3 separate regions of the Homo sapiens genome follow, and regions 1 and 3 are each linked to region 2. The links are contacts of gene promoters, found by promoter capture Hi-C in human tissues and cell types (Jung and others, 2019). All regions are on one chromosome and are shown on one strand. The core of a region is centred on a gene start or on the middle of the fragment in contact, and the rest is flanking DNA. Distances in the headings are between cores, read along the strand shown.

Evidence for each region. The method cuts DNA at HindIII sites, captures the fragments that hold promoters and counts their contacts. A contact is called where the count stands out against the background at its distance.
Region 1: a contact is called between a fragment that was not itself captured here and the fragment with the promoter of MYOM3 in region 2, in 1 of the 25 tissues and cell types used here (H1 embryonic stem cells).
Region 3: a contact is called between the fragment with the promoter of SRSF10 here and the fragment with the promoter of MYOM3 in region 2, in 1 of the 25 tissues and cell types used here (IMR-90 fibroblasts).

Annotation. Positions count from the first base shown.
Region 1 is chr1:23,950,047-23,953,453 of GRCh38, reverse strand. It overlaps LOC124903877 (a long non-coding RNA gene), which reads left to right. Exons shown (of 4, transcript XR_007065541.1): 3 at 378-384. Among named protein-coding and RNA genes, the nearest start is that of PNRC2, 8.1 kb to the left of the region's middle. The HindIII fragment of the contact is 5,689 bases long and covers 1-3,407 here.
Region 2 is chr1:24,110,553-24,114,133 of GRCh38, reverse strand. It overlaps MYOM3 (myomesin 3), which reads left to right and starts at 1,999. Exons shown (of 37, transcript NM_152372.4): 1 at 1,999-2,103. RefSeq lists an enhancer at 1,289-1,797. The HindIII fragment of the contact is 13,718 bases long and covers 1-3,581 here.
Region 3 is chr1:23,978,767-23,982,433 of GRCh38, reverse strand. SRSF10 (serine and arginine rich splicing factor 10) reads left to right here and starts at 2,107. Exons shown (of 6, transcript NM_054016.4): 1 at 2,107-2,243; 2 at 3,617-3,667. The coding sequence starts at 2,179. RefSeq lists enhancers at 1,783-1,832, 899-1,889, 1,843-2,172, 2,603-2,652, 1,890-2,880. The HindIII fragment of the contact is 19,449 bases long and covers 1-3,667 here.

The DNA.
Region 1 (3,407 bases), core at 564-3,063, 160 kb after region 2:
TAGAAAAGGCAGATAAAAAATAAGTAGAATTCACTCAACATCTCACTTCCCAGAAGTAAGCATTGTGAACGCTTGGAAAGTATGTCCTTCCAGTCTTTTTTCTATACCAGGAGACAGTGTGAGTCGTGGTGGGGGCATAGACACCAAAACCTGCTCAGCATCACACCTTAGCTCTGTGGCTTTCTAGCATATGACTGACTTTGGCAGGTTGTTTAACTTCTCCGTGCTGTAGTTTCCCCATCTGTGAACTGGGGATAATAACAATACCTAACATTTGTGTAATGATTAAGTAAGTCAACATCTCTGCAGTACTTAGAACAGTGCCTGCCACATAGAAAGCCCTTAGTTACTGAGCTTTTTTTTTCCTTTTTACAAAGATGAAAAGTGGTATATATTCTATTGTTACCTTTTTTCACTTTTTTTTTTTTTTTTTTTTTTTTTTTGAGGCAGAGTCTAGCTCTGTTGCCCAGACTGGAGTACAGTGGCATGATCTCAACTCACTGCAACCTCCACTTCTCAGGTTCAAGTGATTGTCCTGCCTCAGCCTCCTGAGTAGCTAGGATTACAGGCATGTGCCACCACGCCCAGCTAATTTTTGTATTTTTAGTAGAGACGACGTTTCTCCATATTGGCCAGGCTGGTCTTGAACGCCTGGGCCTCATGTGATCCACCCACCTTGGCCTCCCAAAGTGCTGGGATTACAGGTGTGAGCCACCACGCCCGCCCCTTTTTTCACTTTTTAAACTCAGGATATTGTGAGCATGTTTCCATGTATATATACATTCATTGTTAGCCATATTTTATGTTATGACCATCTTTGATTAATTTACTATTCTCCACTGTTATTTCCAATTTTTTGCTATTATATGCTGAGTTGGATGTCCCTATAAATAAATCTTCATTTCTGTAAATAAATTTCCTTTAAATAAATTCTTAGGGGTGAAAGTACTAGGTCACAAGGTAAATATACAGGTAAGACTTTTGATACATATTACCAAATACTTTCCAGAAATTATGTATCCGTGTATGCCCCCACCATCAGGCTAAAAGTCAGTCCCAGGCTTCTGGCTTTGAGGATACTGTTCGCTGTCCTTATTGTTTATAGCTGCTTTCCTGACATTGGATCTGTAAGAGGAGTTGGTGAATTTACGTTGGTGAATTTCTTTGTTTTTTTGAGACGGAGTTTCACTCTTGTTGCCCAGGCTGGAGTGCAATGGCACAATCTCGGCTCACTGCAACCTCTACCTCCTGGGTTCAAGCGATTCTCCTGCCTCAGCCTCCCAAGTAGCTGGGATTACAGGCATGTGCCATGACGCCCAGCATATTTTTTGTATTTAGTAGAGACAGGATTTCACCATGTTAGTCGGGCTGGTCTTGATCTCCTGACCTCAGGTGACCCACCCACCTCGGCCTCCTAAAGTGTTGGGATTATAGGCATGAGCCACCTCGCCTGGCGGTGAATTTCTTTTGACAGGAAATAGTCAAAAGAATTTTAAAAGGTTTTTTTAAAGATCACGTGTTACGTATGGCCTTTGTACAAAGTATGCCTGTGGGACAGCTTTTTCTGGGGAACATGGAGCTAATGAGGTCCACTTATTCGTCACAGCCTCCATAGCTGTCAATTTGGCAGTTAATGAGCTACAAACGTCTGGAATTTCCACTGAGTCAGGCAAGCCAGTGTTTGTTCTCTGGCTGATGGCTTGGGTTTGGAAAGAGACTATGAGTCAAGCTTCCATGGCCCGAGAGCCTGGATTTTGCCACAGCAGAAAAAAAAAAGAACAGATTGACATAGTCTTAACACATGATTAAACTGCTAGGTGACACCGTGGCATGACTTCCACTCTTGGGTAGAGCAGGCAACAAAGGAGTCGCCATTCGCCCACAGTTTCCAAGGCAAAAGGAGGTGAAGTAACTTGCTCAAGTTCAGTCTGATCTCTTGATTCCAGTTCACCGTGATTGAATATTTATACCATCTCCTTGCCTTTGACTGTTATATCTTTATTTTGTTTTGTTTTAACTGTTACTTATGCAATTCAAAGGTATGATACTTTGCATATTACAAATGTGTTGCACATTAAATAATAACAATAAGTATCGAGCACTCTACTATGAGCAAGGTACACTGTCCTAAGCAATTTAAAAAAAAAATTTTTTTTTTTTAAATAGGATCTCACTCTGTCACCCAGGTTGGAGTGCAGTGGTGAGATCACGGCTCACTGCAGCATTAACCTCCTGGGCTCAAGCAATCCTCCTGCCTCAGCCTCCCGAGTAGCTGGGACAACAGGTGTATGCCACCGTGCCCGGCTAATTTTTGTATTTTCTGTAGAGACAGGGTTTCGTCATGTTGCCCAGGCTGGTCTTGAACTCCTAGGCTCTAGTGATCCACCTGCCTCAGCCCCTCAAAGTGCTGGGATTACAGGCATGAGCCATTGAATCGGCCTGTCCTAAACAATTGATACGCATTCTTATTTAATTCTCATCACAACCTACTGAGGTCACTAGTAGTACTGCCTCATTAAATGGATGAGTAAACTGAGATTCAAAGAGGTAGGCTAAGTCATTTGCCCAAAGTCACATACCTCGAACTTGAACCTGGGTCAGCCTGATGCCAAAACCTGCTCTTAGCCACTCTGCTACACCGATCTAGTCTTCAGGGTCCATATTGCTAGGAAGCGCTCGGAATACAGTATGCTCTAAATGGGAGGTAGCCACCCTTCTGGTTCCATGCTATCATTGGCCAGTAAAATTGCACGTATATTCTCATTGCCGATTAGAAAAAAATAAGAAAAAAAAACTAGAGTATTTATAGATCCTCATGTGTTTTGTTTCTTTGATTGATTGTTTGTTTGTTTGTTTGTGAGACAGGGTTTCACTCCTATTACCCAGGCTGGAGTGCAATGGTGCGATCTCGGCTCACTGCAACCTCTGCCTCCTGGGCTCAAGTGATCTGCCTGCCTCAGCCTCCCAAAGTGCTGGGATTTCAGGTGTGAGCCACCTGCCTGGCTAGAGTTATTTTCAAAGCCCACAAGTGTGGCCCCTGCAATGGCAGTCTTACAGCAAGATATTGTACTAAGAGGCAGAAGCTGAGGGAGCAATCAGCCTAAGGAGAAGCATTGCCCACTGTGAAGGAATTGCAGCCGAGAGAGCTCATGAAGAGAATTTGCTGAAGAACAAGTGCCATGAGAGAAAGAGGCAGCTTTAGCTATCTGTCAGGCCAGGGAAATGTCACAAGAGTTCTAGTCAAGTAGGAACTTTCTTACCGTCTTCTGCCCTTCTTCCTCCCTGATTACAACCCTTAACTATAGTTAAGGCCAGACATGGTGGCTCACACCTGTAATCCCAGAAATCTAGGAGGCCAAGGCAGGTGGATGACTTGAGGTCAGGAGTTCGAGACCACCCTGGCCAAC
Region 2 (3,581 bases), core at 750-3,249:
CCTCACAGCAAATGTATGAAGATGAGTCTTGGAAAGCCCTTGTTCGATTGGGTCAATAGAAGATGGGAGAGAAATGTTCTCTCCCAAAAGATGCTGTAAGAGAGAGCCACAGAAGAGCTTAGAAAGGGGTTTTCAAATAGGGCAGGGGATTCAGATTTTGCCTGCAAAGTTCACTTGTGCTCTCTCTCTCCTTCTCTCGAGTGAGGAGTCCCTGAGGCACCAGCAAGAGTGACAGGTGTAGTGTGGGTGGCCACCTGAGGTCGCAGGAAGGGGTGAGGGAGGGAAGCTGTGCTCTCTGGCTAGGGGCCGGTACAGCCTTCCCCTCACCGGCTCATCCTCTGAGACTCGACCCAGGTGCACCTTCCTGATCACCTCCTGTCGTAAGTGCCTGACTTCCCCTGTAGGTTAGGGTCTGGCATAGGGTAGGTGCCAATGAATGTGAGGGGGAAAGAATTGAGACTGAGGGAATGGCAGGAGAGGGCAAAGGGTGGGAAGAGGTGTGGTGCCGAACACCTATTAACCTCAGTAGGGAAGGCACCAGGTTTGAGAGGCCAAAGAAAAGATCCATAGCCAGCAAACGGAACATGGGGGTTTCAGGAGGCGGAGGTTGCAGTGAGCTGAGATCATGCCACTGCACTCCAGCCTGGACAACAAAGTGAGACTCTGACTCAAGAAGGAAAGAAAGAAGGAAAGAAGGAAAGAAAGAAAGAAAGAAAGAGAGAGAGAAGGAAGGAAGGAAGGAAGGAGGGGGGGAGGGAAAGAAGGAAAGAAGGAAGGAAGGAAGGAAAGAGAAAGAAGAAAGAAAGAAAGAAAGAAAGAAAGAAAGAAAGAAAGAAAGAAAGAAAGAAAGAAAGAAAGAAAGAAAGAAAGAAAAAGAAAGGGAGAGAAGGAAGGGAAGGAAGGAAAGGAAGGAACGTGGGGGTTTGTTAGGGGCTTGCCTACAGGAGAGAGAGTCCACTGGTGATGAACTGGACAGGAGAACCGCCTTACATACAGAAATGGTCCAGGGGCGGCGGGCTGGACAACATACCAGTGGCGGCCGACTGGGCAGGAAAACCTCAGCCCCTTGCAAACAGCATGCAGTTTATAGAGCATTTTCACTTTACACCATCCCCTAATGACCTCCACCTGGCAATCTTCATTTAACCCAAAACTCAGGGCCTCAATCCCCTGTATGGCCAGCGTTCCACCAGAAGGGACGGGACGGGGGCTCAGATATTCATCGTAGGTAAGAAACGGGTTGGCTACTCCCCAGATTCCTTAGCTCGGAACACATATTCAGGTCTTCCACACAGGGTCATTCTTGGAGCGTGCTTCAGTTATCCCTGTCAGGTGCGTTTACCCTATAAGAAGGCCCTTCAGGGGACACTCTGGCAGCCTGAGCAGTTTGCACAGTGAAGCAGTAGGTGGCTCCCCAGCTCCTCCTGCCTGCACCACACCACACACACATGACTGTGGTCAGGGCGGGGGCCGTGTAGTAACTACCGGAGTGGTGGAGGGACCAGGAGCCACACATTGCTGTTTTAGCCAGTGACAACTTCTGAGCACGAAACACTCACTTTTAGGTCATATTCCTTCCACCGTCTTCATGAAGTCCAGGTGCCCAGTCTCACTGTCTCCGTTTTTCAGAAGGCAGTCAGTTCAGGGAAGCTGAGCGCCTTCCCCAGGGCACCCAGTCAGCCGGGGCAGAATTCAGATCAGAACTCCCGACAGCTGAGAACGCCGCACGGGATCTGCCCTCCATACGACCATGCCTGAGCCGTTCCCTCCTTTCCATTTTAACAGGGGCTTGGGTTGGGCAGAAAGGACCCAGCTGAGAGGAGGAGCAGTGTGGGGGGACGCGGCGGACAGCTCCACCTGTCGCTGCTGCCCAGCAGGCTGGAGACACGGAATGGCCCCTCCCCTTGGCCCCCTGTCCCCGATGCCATAGTTCTCATCCATTGTCATTGTACTGTCTCAGTGCTGCTATATTTAAGACGGTGCAGTCTCCGGGATCGCATTCTTCTCCCGGTGCCCGCTGAGCCGAGGGCAAGAAGAGAACAAGGACCCTCTCGGCCTCAGGAATCTTCTCCCCAGAGACTCCTAAGTGGGCACACTGCTTCTGTGAGTCACCCCCAGAAATCAGGGTGGGGGAGGGATGCCTCCTAAGAGTCAGCCACTGGGGAGTGATATCTGTGGGTGCATGTGTGTGTGTGTGTGCACGTGTGTGTGTTTGTGTGTATGTGTGTTGTGTGTTGTGAAAGGAGCCTGGGAAATTTGTGCTGAGGCAGCACCCAAGTGAAAATGGGAGGGGATTCCAGAAACCCCTGCCCCATCCCACTGTTCTGTGTGGCCCTGGGTCTTCTGAGAGCTGAGCTGTCTGTGATGTGAAAGTTGCAAAAAAAAAAAAAAGAGTGGGGGCTGCCCTGGGAACTGGAGTCTTTCCTGTGATGGAGCAGCGATAAGCGGGAGCCAGGCTAAGCTGGCAAGTTCCACGAACTTAGAGCGGAGCTGGCTGAGCCCGGCTTGGCCAACCCCACAGGCAGGGAAAGAGAGCGAGCCCTCGGATCCCAAATCTTAGAGCTGGAAGGGATTTCATCCAGTGCCTGACAGGAAACCGAGGCCCAGACGGGAAAGGAGTTGCCTCAGCTCATGACTGGCAAGGGCAGGATTCGGCCTCGCGGAAGCTGGTGGAGCCACTGGCTAAGAACACGTCCCAGCCTGTGCCACCCGCCGCCCGCAGGATGTGTCTCTGCTCCCAGCCACCATCCGCCCCCATCGCAGCTCCTGGAGGGGTCTTGGCTCAACTGCTGTGCATTCCTCTTTCCCTCCTGAAGAAGGGGAGAGGCCTCCTCGGCAGATGGAGGCTTGGGAGGAAAGCAGAGGGGAATAGGGAAGGCCACGCAGTGGGACCTCTGGCCCAGATTTTTGCACCCCAAGAGAGGGAAGCGGGGGCAGTTTCCCCTCCACGCAGGCACACACAGTGTTCCGGGAAGAGGCACCCTGGTCCTTTGGGAAAGGGCAGTGAGGCCGCAAACTTGTCCCTGCTTAATACCACGCATCAGTCAGTGCTTTAAAAAGAATTGGTAGCTCATCCGCTAAAGCCAGGGGTCTGGTTGCTGGAGGCCCCGAGGTCAGGGACGAGCGCCAGGCCCCTGCCTGCTGTGCTAATCGGGAACAGAGCATCCAGGGGAAGGGAGCCAGTGGCTGGTGCCAGGGAATGTTAACTCTCAGCCACTGGAGCCAGGGCCATCGTGTCCCAGGAAAGCTGGGGCAGAGTGGGGGGTCCTTGCTCCACCTAGGGTGGTACCCAGCAGCTCTCCTCCTGGGCCATGAGGAAGAAAGAGCAGAATGAGCAGGGCTAGCCACTTCTTTGGGTGCAAAGAGAACTTCTTCCATCGGGAGGGAGTGATACGAAGCCAAAGAGGGTGACTGTCCCATTATGTCATTTGAGATGATTAGCAGGAGCCCAGGGAGCTTTAGGGGGCAGCCCTTGGTCCCAGCTAACCCTGCAGCCATCCATTCTCTTTTTCCTGATGCCCACAACTGCAGACACCCAAAAGGAGCAAACTTCTAGGAAGTAGAAGGGGTAAAAGCCCACT
Region 3 (3,667 bases), core at 858-3,357, 130 kb after region 2:
CCAAGGCAGGCGGATCAATTAGGTCAGGAGTTTGAGACCAGCCTGGCCAACATGGTGAAAACCCATCTCTACTGAAAACAGAAAAATTAGCCAGGCATGGTGGCAGGAGCCTGTAGTCCCAGCTACTCGGGAGGCTGACGTAGGTGAATCGCTTGAACCCAGGAGGCGGAGGCTGCAGTAAGCCAAGATCCAGCCACTGCATTCACGCCTGGTCAACAGAGCAAGACTACATCTCAAAAAATAAAATAAAATAAAAATAAGTAAAAATCAAAAACAAGAAAAAACCTATCACATTACTGTTTCTTTCATATAACAAACCTGCATTTACTTTATTTTCTCATTGCCATCGCCCTAGAAATATAAGCTGTATGTTTTTCATTACTGAATTTCAAGCTTCTAGCACAATGTCTGACACATAACAGGGAATCAAACTTTTTTTTGTTTTGTTTTGTTTTTCACATCACCCTCCCAAAATGCTGGGATTTTGGGGCCACCTTGCCTGGCCCAACATTTTAATAAATTAAGCATGCAAATCTTGGGAAACAAAAATTTAGAATAGCTCTGCTACAGAGTGCTACAAACTATCATCACCTGTATCGAATCACTTAATTGTCTTAGATGCTGATTGACACAAAAATAATGCCTTTATGACTTTTTATTAAATAAAAGTTCATTTAATTTAACAGTACTTGAGTCCCTGCTACCTGCTTGGCACTGTGCCACACGCTGGAGGCATTCCAACTGAAGTCTCTCATCTCCAGAAGTTGACTCTTATCGAGCAGGAAATGGCTCTCAAAAGGGCCTCCAAAATCAAAACCATACTAAAGATTATTTGCTATTTTCATGCTCATTCTCTTACAAACGTGGAGTTTTCCAGAGGGTACATGATGTGTGATAAAGGGTAGTGGAGTGTGTCAAAGTTTTCTCTATTTTTTTTTTTTTTCTTTTTTGAGACGGAGTCTCACCCTGTCGCCCAGGCTGGAATGCAGTGGTGCAATCTCGGCTCACTGCAACCTCTGCCTCCCGAGTTCAAGCGATTCTTCTGCCCCAGCCTCCCAAGTAGCTGGGATTACAGGCGCGCGCCACTACGCCTGGCTAATTTTTGTATTTTTAGTAGAGATGGGGTTTCACTGTGTTGGTCAGGCTGGTCTCAAACTCTTGACCTCGTGATCTGCCCGCCTCGGCCTCCCAAAGTACAGGGAGGGATTACAGGCGTGAGCCACCGAGCCCAGCCGAAGTTTCCTCTATTTTAAGTTCTCATTAACTATTTATTAATAGGTATAACCCACACTTTTTTTAAAAAAAGCTCTTTGGAATCTTCCGTAATACACAAGAATATAAAGGCGTTCTGAGACCAAAAAGTTTGAGAACTGCTGCAATACAGGTCCGATGCATACCCAGGAAGCCGTCAGCAACAAAGAATACACTACAAATGACCACAGTCATGAACCTACAGTGTGAGGTTTGGTCCCACCCAGGTTGGGAGCCAAATGCGTGACTAAGTGGAGATGGCTAGGGTGTGGGTGAGGGGCAAAGGCAGGCTGAAAACACTGGAGAGACAGGCCCAGCTCTGCGCAAGGGCACACACCTCCTTCCTTTACACACTCAATACAAGCTGTAAATCCTTCTTTCGCAGGTCAGGGCATAACCTGGACCAAACGGGAAATTTAAGGCAAAATAAAAGCAGGACATTAACTTGGACCAACCGGGAAATTTAAGGCAGCCTCTCTGAACTAAATAGTTTAAAAATCTGTCCATTTAGTAGTAACCGCAAAGTTTGGCCTAGAGACTAAAACATCTGCTTCCTGATTTGGGGGTGGAGATGAAGTGGAGTGTAAGGTAGAAAACGGCGGGAAATGAAGACCTAAAGAAAGAAAGAACAGGCTTGGGGGAGGGTAAGAGGCACCGCAAGAAGCCAACGAATGACACCGACGCTGAGGCGCGTGCGCCAGCCCTCCGCATGCGCAGGCGGACGCCTGGTGTTCTCGCGGGAAAGAACCGTTGCGCCCGACTTTGCGCGGAGGTAGGAGGGGGAAGTGGAGGCGGGAGTGAAGTCTCGCGAGAAGAGTCGGTTGCCGTAGCAGAGCCCTCTAGCTGTGTGTGTCTGAGGCTCGGCCGCCTGAGCCGCGGACGGTTTGCTGAGCCCGTTAGTGCGCCCGGCCGAGACACGCCGCCGCCATGTCCCGCTACCTGCGTCCCCCCAACACGTCTCTGTTCGTCAGGAACGTGGCCGACGACACCAGGTAGGTACAAGGCAGGTACTCCGGGCCTAGGCGGGGAGGCCGCAGGCGCCTGGAGAGGACCCTGGTGGTGGCGGCACTGGGCCGGGGGAGGGGACGGAGTGAAGATGGCGGGTCCCGCGCCCGCTTTGGCGCCGAACTAGGCCGCGCAGCGGGCCTCAGCCGCCGCGTGGGAGCGAGGGCGGCGCCTCTGCCTTCGCCGGGCCGCGTGGCGGGGTTTTTCGGTCCCCCTCCCCCTCCGCAGTTTGCAGCCCCTTTCTCCCTGCTTCCTGCCGGCGCGAGCAGCCCCCCGCCGCGGCCTTTCCGCGACCCGACGGCCGCCCCCCATTGATTTGAAGTTCACATTCTTCGAGGTTCACGCCCCCTTGGCCCAGAGATTTTTTTTTTTCCCCAGCCAAAAAATAGTGAGATGAAATAACGGGATCGAGGGAGAGGAATGTTGCTACCATTTATCTTTGTTGTTGTTGCCGTTGTTAATATTTGGGGGTTTTAATCAGTTGGAGGTGTTTGGAGAAAGGGAGCGTTGAGATTTGGGGAGTTAGATTTTTCCAGTTAAATGTTGCGAGTAGTTTTTCTTATTTCCTGGAAATTCTGGTCACCCTTTGAAAAGGGAGGTTTGGGAAGCGTCAGTCATTAGGACGTTGACAGCTAAGTTAGATTAATTCAGACGTACCTTAAATAGGCTTTGTTCTCACCATTCCCTTGTTTCGAGTTGCCTTCAGATTATTTTGGAAGAGTTCTTACTACAAGATGAGGCTTTTTATTTCACAAATAATGAATCTACACACAGAAAATAAGTGGTTTGGGTTTTTGGTGTTTCGTGGGGGTTTTTTGCTAGCTTTGTGATTTGCTTTTGTCTTAAATTTAAGAAGGAAAGAAAGCAATAATTCTTTCCATAAATAATTCTTTCCATAATTTCTAATAGTTACGTTAGCATCTAGAGAAATTTTCTCTTTACGTCATCTTGACACTTAACTATTTAAGAAGTTCGATATTTGTGACTTTTTCAGACCATATTTATCTACTGTTAAGTGTGTAAATCTGTCGCTAAAATTGGGGAGTAAAAATAAGTGCTTGGTATTTTTCAGAGTGCTAGAGTCGATTTGATGCTGTAAAAGTAAAAAAAAAAAAAAAAACAAGGCTTATATACAACCTAATGCTGCTGTACCTTTTATGAAAAATGACGGCTGTAGATAAAAATAAGTTGTGGTCATTCCCTTGTACCATACATATGTCTGCTGTTGTCCTGTTAATGTAAACTGCATTTTTATCTTCCAAATTCTTGGATCCTAGCTTTCCTTCATCAAAAAGATATATTGCCTATACATCTTAAGGACTTGGACATAAAAATTTGAGGTCTTTTTATGATGTTTTAGGTCTGAAGACTTGCGGCGTGAATTTGGTCGTTATGGTCCTATAGTTGATGT